2 separate regions of the Homo sapiens genome follow, and region 2 is linked to region 1. Evidence: promoter capture Hi-C in 16 types of primary human blood cells and fetal thymus (Javierre and others, 2016). All regions are on one chromosome and are shown on one strand. The core of a region is centred on a gene start or on the middle of the fragment in contact, and the rest is flanking DNA. Distances in the headings are between cores, read along the strand shown.

Region 1 (4,686 bases), core at 1,730-4,229:
TACAGGAGGCAGTCAAATGCCTAGGCAGATAGGGCGGGTCCCTGGTGAAACCCCACCTCCAAGTTGAAGACAACTTAAAACCTGAAAGCCAAGCTGCAAGTTAAATCTTCAGACCAGATTGAGAACCTGTCTTCCCATTTGGCACGCTTTCCTCTGATTGATCCCCACCCTTCACCTACTTTACATACACCTACCCTTTCCTAATTGGTTTTCTACACTGTCGTACCCACCTTTGAGTGGTATTTTCACTTTAACCTTTTTTGCATACTCACAAACCAATCGGCATGCACTCCCTATTCTGAGTCCAGAAAAAGCCCTGGATCCAGCCACACTGAGAAAAAAAAACACCCAACTGTGGGAGCGGGGAACCACCCCCCTCCCCATCCCCTCTCTGCTGAGAGCTGGTCCATCACTCAATAAAATTATTCTCTGCCCATCCTCACCCTTCAACTGTCAGCGAATTCTCATTCTTCTTGAACACAGGACAAGAGCTCAGGAACAAATGAAGGTACAAACTACAATACAGGCAGGGCGGGGTATGGCCGGGTGGGTGGGGCAGCAGGCCTGGAGTGGGGCCTTGCTGGCCAGAAATGTCCTGAGCCCCTCTTCTTTGGTTTGTCTGAGAACAAGGGCAGGGCTTGAGGGATGCACACACAGTCCCAAACACACATATGCACTTGGCAAACAGACAACGTTCTCCACACCACAATGAAATCCAAATCCACAGACTGGCCACTGCAAATCATATATGACTGCAAGTGCACACACACACACACACACACACACACACACACACACACACTTTGAAGCAGGTGTCAGCCTCCAAGAAAAAGTGATGGACAGTCTGTCTCTCATATCCTCACATATTTGGTTCACCTGGAGATGGCCTCAGATGAGCCAAGTGACACAGAGGTGCGAGAGACTGAGGATGTGCTGAGGTGTTACCCAGCACTCCAGTAGTGCTATTACCCAACACAAAAATTGGTCTGAATATCAGATTTCAAGCAAGCAAGGGAAACCCAGAAGAGACTGGGAGAAGTCCTTATGGAGGCTAAAGCAACTCCATGTTGGATGCTAATCCACAGTTTTGGCCGTGTTGGCTTTGGAGCCTCCCAGAAGACCTCTGAGATTCCCAATTTATCAATTGCTCCTTGTGTAAGTGCAAACACTTACTGTAAATCCGGCCCTTAGGTCAAACAACCTTGATGTTATCATACTTCAACTGTCCTACACATCTTTTCTGAATCACCCTTCCCCTGTGGTCTATAAGCCCTGGTCCTGGGGGTGAATCATGGAGACACAAACGTAGCTTCTGTTTATAAGTCCTTATTAAATGTTTTTTTCGAAGAAACTGGATGTGTCAGCCTGTAACCTGCAAAAGGATCTGGCTGCTCTCTGCTTGTAGAAAGAATGGATAATAAAGGAAAATCTGCTAGCTGCCATGCTAGCAGGGGAAGAGCAGCAAACAATTCCACTCTTCAATTCATGGGGGGAACGCAGGGGTTTTTTAAGAAAGGATCTGAAATGCAGAAAAGGCAAGGGGGAGGTTAGGAGGTACCAGGTGGTGTGACTTGCTCCAGTGGTCCTCTTTAATTATCGTCTTATTTGGTGGAGGGGCTGGTGCAATCGTGGATCCTGCCAGGTTATAAATTAGTTACTCTTCAGCAGGGTATATGTTCAACTCCTGAAGTAAGCTTTTGTTGGAGAGAGAATTCCGGAGGTGCCTGGTCCCTATCAGGACGCAGCTCCTGAGGCATCTAAGGAAATATATGACCAGGTAAGAGCATAGCGTGTGCTTAACAAGCACGTAGGTAAATAAACGTGCGTAAGGCATGGGAGTACAGTATGGGACAGGAAAGGGAGTGGAGGTCACAGCACGTCCTGAGGCTGTGTTTTAAGATGAGAGGTAACATACATGCAGTTTGTCTCAAAATTATATCTTGAGGCCCAGAGGAGGAAGAGAAAAAAGGAAAGAAGAGAAACTAAGTTTAAAACACGGTTTAAGGCTGGGCGCGGTGGCTCACCCCTGTAATCCCAGCACTTTGGGAGGCTGAGGCGGGTGGATCACCTGAGGTCAGGAGTTCGAGACCAGCCTGGCCAACATGGTGAAACCCCGTCTCTACTAAAAATACAAAAATTAGCCCAGGCGTGGTGGCACATGCCTGTAATGCCAGCTACTCGGAAGGCTGAGGCAGGAGAATCGCTTGAACCTGGGAGACGAAGGTTGCAGTGATCCGAGATCACGCCACTGCATTCCAGCTTGGGCGACAGAGCGAGACTGTAAAAAAAAAAAATAGATAAAAAAATTTTAAAAATCGCGGTTTGAGGCTCAGCTGCTGAGCTGCTGGTTAAAAGCCTCTTTCTTGGGTCTCTCAGCTTCCTGGGACTTTGGGGGCAGGTCTGCATAAACTGCTTAGTTGTGGACCCCCCTCCAACAATTAGGTAGGGGACTACTCAGTATTCATCCATCGGTGTCCTCAGACCCCCAGACGGGGAGGCCCTGGGGCAACGCCAAGACTCACACCGGCGTCCTGGCGCCTTTGCCCTCAAGGGCCTGCAACTACCTCCTCCCCATTCGGAGCGGCCGCGGCCACATCCTTAACGCCAAGCCGGCACGCCAGGCAAAAGCGGCTCGGACGCCCTCACCCCACCTTCCGCACTCAGGGCCGAGGCTGTGCCTGGCCACCTGCTTCCCAGCACATGCACACACGCGCGCGCGCACACACCCACACACACGTACCCACGGCCGGCCGGGCTACCCGGACCACTTTGATCCGAAGGCACTGGAGGCCCAGAGGGAAGGAAAGGGAGGGGTGGCCGGAGCCCGCTAGCGCCCCAGGACAGCCTCGGGTTGCCCCAGGCGGTAGCCCTGTGGGACAGTGGTTCCCCGTCCGCGGCCTCGGGGGCGGGGCGTCTGTAGGCCTCGCCCCGCTGACGTCAGCCCTGCGGGGCGCTGGCGGAGCGGGCGGCGGAGCTGTCAGTCCCAGCCCAAGGGTAGCTGGAGGCGCGCAGGCCGGCTCCGCTCCGGCCCCGGACGATGCGGCGCGCCCAGGATGCTGCCGTGCCTCGTAGTGCTGCTGGCGGCGCTCCTCAGCCTCCGTCTTGGCTCAGACGCTCATGGTAAGGCTCCGGGACGCGGCCCTTCCCTGCCCTGCCCTCTCCGCGCCCGCTCCATTAAAGTTCTCCATCCAGTGGAGAGCCCTGGCTGGCTGGCCCTCTGGCAGAGCGGTGCCCGGGTGCTCCCTTACTCTGGCAAACCTGGATCTCAGGCTCACCTGTTGTGGAAGTGGAAGAGGCTGAAATTGACAGGAACTGACGGATTGGGAAGGATAGAGAAGTATGCGCAAGGCCAAACCCCCAACCCGCAAACCTCATCATCCACCCACTTCTAGATGAGCCGTAAGTTTAGCTCTAGGTTTTTTGCTGTTTAGGTTCAAATGATGGGACTTCTTGTCCCCTTGGGGAATAATTTTGATCTCCTGACTCTCCCTTCTCTTAGTCGACTCTTCAACTAACCTCTGTCTGTCCTTCTCCCATCTCACCTTCATCCCTCACTGATCACCCCGATCTGATCCCCCTTGCTCCACCTGTAGCCCCCAACTCACTCCCACTGCCCCCTGCCTCTCTCCTCCTAACCCAGCCAGTTCAGGCTTCTAACCCAGTTCAGGCTCCTAACCCAGACAGTTCTCCGGCAAGGTTTCTGCAACTAAGAAAAGTAAACCCCAGAGACAGAATGAAAGAGCCGGGAGTTGGAAGGACCAAGAGCAGAGACAGAGAGCAAGGACCGAAACTGCTTCTTCATGACACCAAAATACAAAGTAAAACATGCAGTCAGCCATTCACGTGATCGAGAGCTGAGTCGGAGATGTGCAGCCCAAATACCACAACGACTCGCTGCATTTTTCACTTTCCGTCTAATGTTTCGAAATCAAGGCACTGACGTGAAGATCAAAGACGGTATAAGAAAGAAAGCAAGAGACAGATGACAGAGTCCTCCCCCCCAAAAAATAAATAAAAAACAGGTGCATGATTAGAGAGATGTAGAGAAGTTAGAACACTAGGGAGCGGGAGCAGAGTCGCTGTCAAATGGAGAGAACTTAGAGGATCAAGGAGGAGAGAAAGGGAACCAACCAGCCGTTGGCCTTGCACATACTTCAGTCTGCTTGATCAACAAGACTCTTAAAGTAGAAATGTTTGTTGCATTCTTACAAAGAAGACAATGCCTTCAGCAGTGTTTCCCATGGTGAATGGTGTGTACTGGGGGTAAAGGGAGAGTAGAGCTAGGAATTGGTATTGAGTATCTCTCCTCGGAGCTACAGGTGCCAGCTCTTGTGGGGATGTCCTCAGCCATGTGTAGAGCCAGAGCTGATTTATTCCATCTGTCCTTGCCCAGCCAGAGGTTGGACATCTGGCTATAGGCAAAGCCCTCCCAGAAACTAGGGAATGAGGCAAGCACTTAGCTTGGGGAGCCCAGGAGACCTATGAAGAGAAGGAGGCAGATGTCAGCAAGCAGGCTGTCTGTGTACTTAGTGAGGTGGCTTTGAGCTGGAGCCTGGGCCAAGCCAGGGTGGGGATCAGGTGTGTGGATGGGGCCAAGCCTAGGAATAGTGCTAGAGCAGGGACAGGGATTGGGCAGAGCCAGGGACTAACACATCTGAGAGCTCATTGCCAACTTGCTTAGCCCTC
Region 2 (4,873 bases), core at 865-3,364, 560 kb before region 1:
TTTTCATTCCCTCTTGCTGGTTGGAGGTGGCTCTGATTCGTGTTTGTTTGCCCAATATCTGGTGTGCAGGGGAGGTGGGGTTGGGGGTCTTCTATGCGGACAGCTCAGGTTTGATCGTTGTGCCTGCAGTTCTGGAGGCGACCTGCAGATGGCGTGCGCGTCCTTGGGAGGCGTTCCGTCCTCCCAGAGATGGAACGAAGCTGGGCTGTCACCAGGTGTCTGGAATGCAGAGCTTTGGTTTTCAACTGATGCCGTTAGCTGCTTCTCTTGGCTGGGTCCTGGGTGTGGGGGCTGAGATGAGCATTTCTTCATGAGCCTAGGAATACCGAGGCGTACGGAATCTCTGCCCCTCCCCTCTCACCGTGCCGACCCGGGAATCTAGTTATTCATGCGAGGGACTCCTCTGCATCCCACACACTCTAGGTGCTCAGAGAGAATTTGTGGGATGAGTTGCTATTCGGAAGATGCTTCTATGAAAGGTCATGCATCCCAGGTGCGGCCTCACCGGGGCCCAGGCTGATAGGTATCAGCTGCCTGCATGCACAAACTCCTCCCTCCTTCTCCAGCCCTTCCCAGTTCCTCCTCTCAGCTCCTAGGGAGCGGTGGGTCCCAGACTCACCTTCCTTCCAGGTTCCTGATCCACAGCTCAGCCTCAATTGCAGTGCTCAAGAGCCCCCTGTGCACTTCTTAGGTGCACTTCCTTTTCACCCAGGGGCCAGTCACCTGCTTCTGCCTCTCCAAACCTTCAAGTCCCTGGAGGTCCATCTCACCTGTCACCTCCTGTGATGCCCTCTGGACCCTCTCATCAGAAACCAGGCCTCTGGACACCCACGGCACCTTGCCTGCTCCTCCGTGTGGACGCCTTTTCTTCCACTTGGCTGACTCCTTGGAAGCCAGGTGAGGTACCTGATGTGCTGACCTGGTTCTCTTTGGCTGAGCTCCATTCCCTCTCCTTCATGAGCTTCTCTCACTCCTCTCACCTCCGACGACTTCTCTTCTTCTCCCTCTGGCCTCATCTGGTCCTAAGAGTCAGCCCAGAACTTTAGGCCTTGGCCTGGTGCCCCAGCTATAGATAATCTCTTCTTCCCCGCTCCCGATAGGCACCTCTTTCACAACTGTGGGCTATTGGTCTTGTATAGTCCTGGCCCCCTGGCTACCCTGCACTCTCTTGGAGGAAAGAAGCCAGTAGGCAACCCCTCCCCTATCCCAGGCTCCCCAGCGCTTGGTGAGCCAAGGTTGCCTCATTCCATCTGCTACAAGCTTCCCTCCGTTTACAGGTAAGGACACTGTGGGTCAGAGGGGTTTAGGAGTTTGCACGAAGCCACCGACCTAGTTCCCCTTGCGGGCCCAGCACAGCTCTGAGAACAGAAGAGGAGGCACCTTGGCTAATTGCAAGCCTTTAAAAGTCTTAGAGCACTGAGCCAAAGCCCAGGCTTCTCACAAAGTCTCTTTATGAGAGACAGACGGCCTGGGGTCGGGCTCTCTCCTCCCTCCCCGCTGGCCTTCGCCAGATGGGAAAAAAGCCACCACATAGAAACATAACCTTTATTGCACACGGCGCTGGGTCTTTTTTCATAGAAAAAGGTATTAACACATAAGCATCTGCAAATTGAAGCAACTCCTGGTTTTCTTGGAACAGTAAAATCGCATGCAGTGTCTCTGAGTTGGGATTTTGGTCTTTGTCAAAACCACCTAGACTGGGGGGAAGGTGAGGAGGAGGGAAAAAAATTGCTGAGTCTTTGTGCCTCTGTCTCAAAATAGGGTGAGAGAAATATATAGATATATAGCTCGTGGACGCGTTCCTGTCTGTCTATATATGTATATATATCTCCACACATATTTTGTGGGGTGGGGGATTTGACTTGTACTGTCAAATTCTTTGTGCCCTGGCTTCATGGAGAAGAAGAAAATAGTTTCATTTGTACAAAAGAGTTCTATGTACAGGCGTTCATGATTGGGGGTTTTTGTTTTGTCGTTGGTTGGTTTTTGTCTGTCAGTTGAATATAAATAATGCAGAAAAACAGCCGAGCTGGCGTGTGGGGCTGCGGCGCGGCGCGGTCCAGGCGTGGCTGCTCTTCCTGCGGGCCCTACACCAGGGTGTAGGATTTGGAGTAGGCCCCGGCCCCCTGCTTCTGAGACCTCCCTACCCCCGATGTGCTCATCTCGAGAAGCGAGTCCCTGGAGCCCCCCATTTTGGTGTGTGGGCCCCCGGCTCGTGGAGGCTCGGTGCTGGGGGCCGGAGGGGCAGCGCTGGGGGCGGTGGGTGGCTCAGCAGGGGTGGGGCCGGGGGCTGGGGGGGCTGTGCCGGCTGGGGGGGCTGGCATGGCCAGAGTCCTCTGAGGTAAGGTGGCTGTGGAGGCGGCAGCGGGGGCCCCTGGGTGGGGAAGGCCCAAGGACTTGCTGGCAGGGTCCAGGGTCAGGTGGCGAGCCTGGGTGTGGTAGGTTCGAGCCAGGTTCCGGATGGAGGCCTCACGGGGTGGGACCACGGGGCAGGGCTCACGTCCATCTGCCTTTCGAAAGAAGGCCTCTGACTTGGCATACAGGGGCAGGTTGCAGTAGTCACCTGGAATCACAGAGGCAGAGGATGTTACAGAGAGTCATAGCCCTCTGGAAGCAGCTCGTTCAGCCCCCACCCCATCCCCTGCCCCCAGTCTTCTCTCTGATTTGGCATAGGGGCCCCTCCACTGGGGGGCAATAAAGAGTAGCGGAAAGGTCGGGTACTTGGCCCTTCTGAGCCTTCGTTTCCTTATCTGTGAAGTGGGGATGATCTTACTTCCCCACAGGATTATTGTGAGGAGCGAATGAGGTGAGGGAGGTAAAGTGCTTTGCTACAGTGGCTGGTGCAGATAACAGCTGCCCAGTACATGGATGCTTGTTGTTCAATGGTCACTAGAGGCTGGTCAGCTTCCGGTAGTGGAGAGCTCACTACTGCTAAGGACGAGGATGTCCTAATGGCTCTGGCTGGTGGAAAGCTTTTCTTTACCCTGAGGAGGAAAGGAATATCATTCCCTGTCGCCTCCCCACCATGGAGCCTGGTTCTGTTCTCTGAGGTCTCACAGAGTAAGGCGTTCCCCTCTTTCCCATGGCAGCCTTCCAGATGTTTGAAGTCAGCTACATGTCCCCTCTCCTCCCCCTCGGTCCCCTCTTCTCCAGGTGGAAAGTTCCTAATTTCTTTTTTTTTGAGACGGAGTCTCGCTCTGTCATCCAGGCTGGAGTGCAGTGGCATGATCTCGGCTCACTGCAACCTCCGCTTCCCGAGTAGCTGGGATTACAGGCACGTGCCACCATGCCCAGCTAATTTCTGTATTTTTTTAGTAGAGATGGGGTTTTGCCATGTTGGCCAGGCTGCTCTGGAACTCCTGATCTCAGGTGATCCGCCTGCCTTGGCCTCCCAAAGTGCTGGGATTACAGGCATGAGCCGCCGCACCCAACCTAGTTCCTTATTTCTTAAACTGCCTCCATGTGACTTGCTTCTAAGACCTCCACCGCCTGACCCCCCGTGCTCCATGGGCACCCTGCCTGCAAATGGGCCTCTTCCCCCGGGGAGCTGGGCCAGGCATTTTCCTTAGATTTTCTTATTGAATCCTCACGACAGCCCCTAGGATTGGTTAATACCTGTCTGCACTTTACAAGTGAGGAAACTGAGGTTCAGAGAGATTAAATCATTTGCCTAAATTTGCACAGCTAAAAGGGGTGGGGGTGTCATTCAGGGTCACAGTCTCCACAGTCTTTCCATTGTTCCAGGCTCTTCTTTCCATGACCCAGAAAGCCCCGCCCCCTGCCTCAATTAGCATGGCCAGTGCTAAGCAGACCAGACTGCATTGTTTGATAGTCTGGGCTTTGCACGCTGTGACCCCAGCATCTGCTGATAGACTCCCCCTGCTGATCCTAGCCCTGCCCTGCCAGCCTCTAAGGGCATATGCTCCGGCCAGGCCCGTGGGGTCAGATGGTTCCCAGCCAGGCCAGGTCACTGCCTACTGAGAGGTATGACCATGGTGGGTGGAGCTGCCAGGATTGTTTGTTTGGGTCTGGATTAAATTCAAACAGCATTGAGACCAGAGGCCCTTGGGCAGCTGACCCTGAAGGGATCTGTTTCCATCCTGGCACAGCTTCAGATTAAGGGGATGCTCACTACCGAATGAATGAGGCCTTACAACACGCTGGGGATGTATATCATTTCTAATGCCCATTATGACAATGCAAAGTAGATACTATCGTTGGCATTTTACAAATGAGAAACTTAAGGCCACAGAGGTTAAATGACTTGCCCAAGGCCACAGACATAGGAAGAGGTTAAGCCAGGATGTGGGCCCTGATCTGCCTGCTCCTAAGTCCTTGCTGTTGGTACCACCCTGCACTGCCAAGGAGCCAAGCTGGGCTGGCATGATCCTGGTGCTGGCAGAACTAGATCTAGCCAGGGCTCATGGGGCTGGGGCCAGGGGGCGGGGGGGCACTGCCTGGGAGGTGGTCTGAGCACTCACTCTTGTTGGCCCGGTGAGGGATGGGCACAGCCACGTTTTTGCCCCGGTCCGCATCCTGGGGCTTGGGTGGTGAGGCGGTAAAGCGGCAGATGCCAGGCTCTGAGGGTGTGCTCATGGATGTCATGCTGTCGGCGTTCTCGTTGGTGCCTGTGGTCATCTGGTCAGAGGAACTGTCAGAGATGAAGCACTCGGTGATCTCAAACTTGGCGTGCTGCAGCTGCTCCTCCAGCTTGGCATGCTCATAGGCCCGGGCCAGCTCCTCGTAGGTGGAAGAGGCACTCTCAGTGGACACCATGCTGTTCCTTCCTTTGTCTGGGGAGTTAAGAGGAAAGGGGTGGGTTACGGGGAGGAGGGTATAAGTGAGACTGACTGAGCACTTCCCCTGCCCGTAA

The links. The method cuts DNA at HindIII sites, captures the fragments that hold promoters and counts their contacts. A CHiCAGO score of 5 or more calls a contact.
Region 2: a fragment that was not itself captured here is called in contact with the fragment with the promoter of IL10RA in region 1 in 1 of 17 cell types (endothelial precursors); the score reaches 5.6 in endothelial precursors.

Annotation. Positions count from the first base shown.
Region 1 is chr11:117,983,415-117,988,100 of GRCh38, forward strand. It overlaps IL10RA (interleukin 10 receptor subunit alpha), which reads left to right and starts at 2,980. Exons shown (of 7, transcript NM_001558.4): 1 at 2,980-3,120. The coding sequence starts at 3,054. RefSeq lists enhancers at 2,408-2,467, 3,858-4,157 and silencers at 2,658-2,757, 2,778-3,057. The HindIII fragment of the contact is 8,039 bases long and covers 1,693-4,686 here.
Region 2 is chr11:117,426,241-117,431,113 of GRCh38, forward strand. DSCAML1 (DS cell adhesion molecule like 1) reads right to left here. Exons shown (of 33, transcript NM_020693.4): 32 at 4,482-4,793; 33 at 1,532-2,563. The coding sequence ends at 2,088. Among named protein-coding and RNA genes, the nearest start is that of CEP164, 100 kb to the left of the region's middle. RefSeq lists enhancers at 3,168-3,846, 3,847-4,524, 4,525-4,873. The HindIII fragment of the contact is 1,712 bases long and covers 1,259-2,970 here.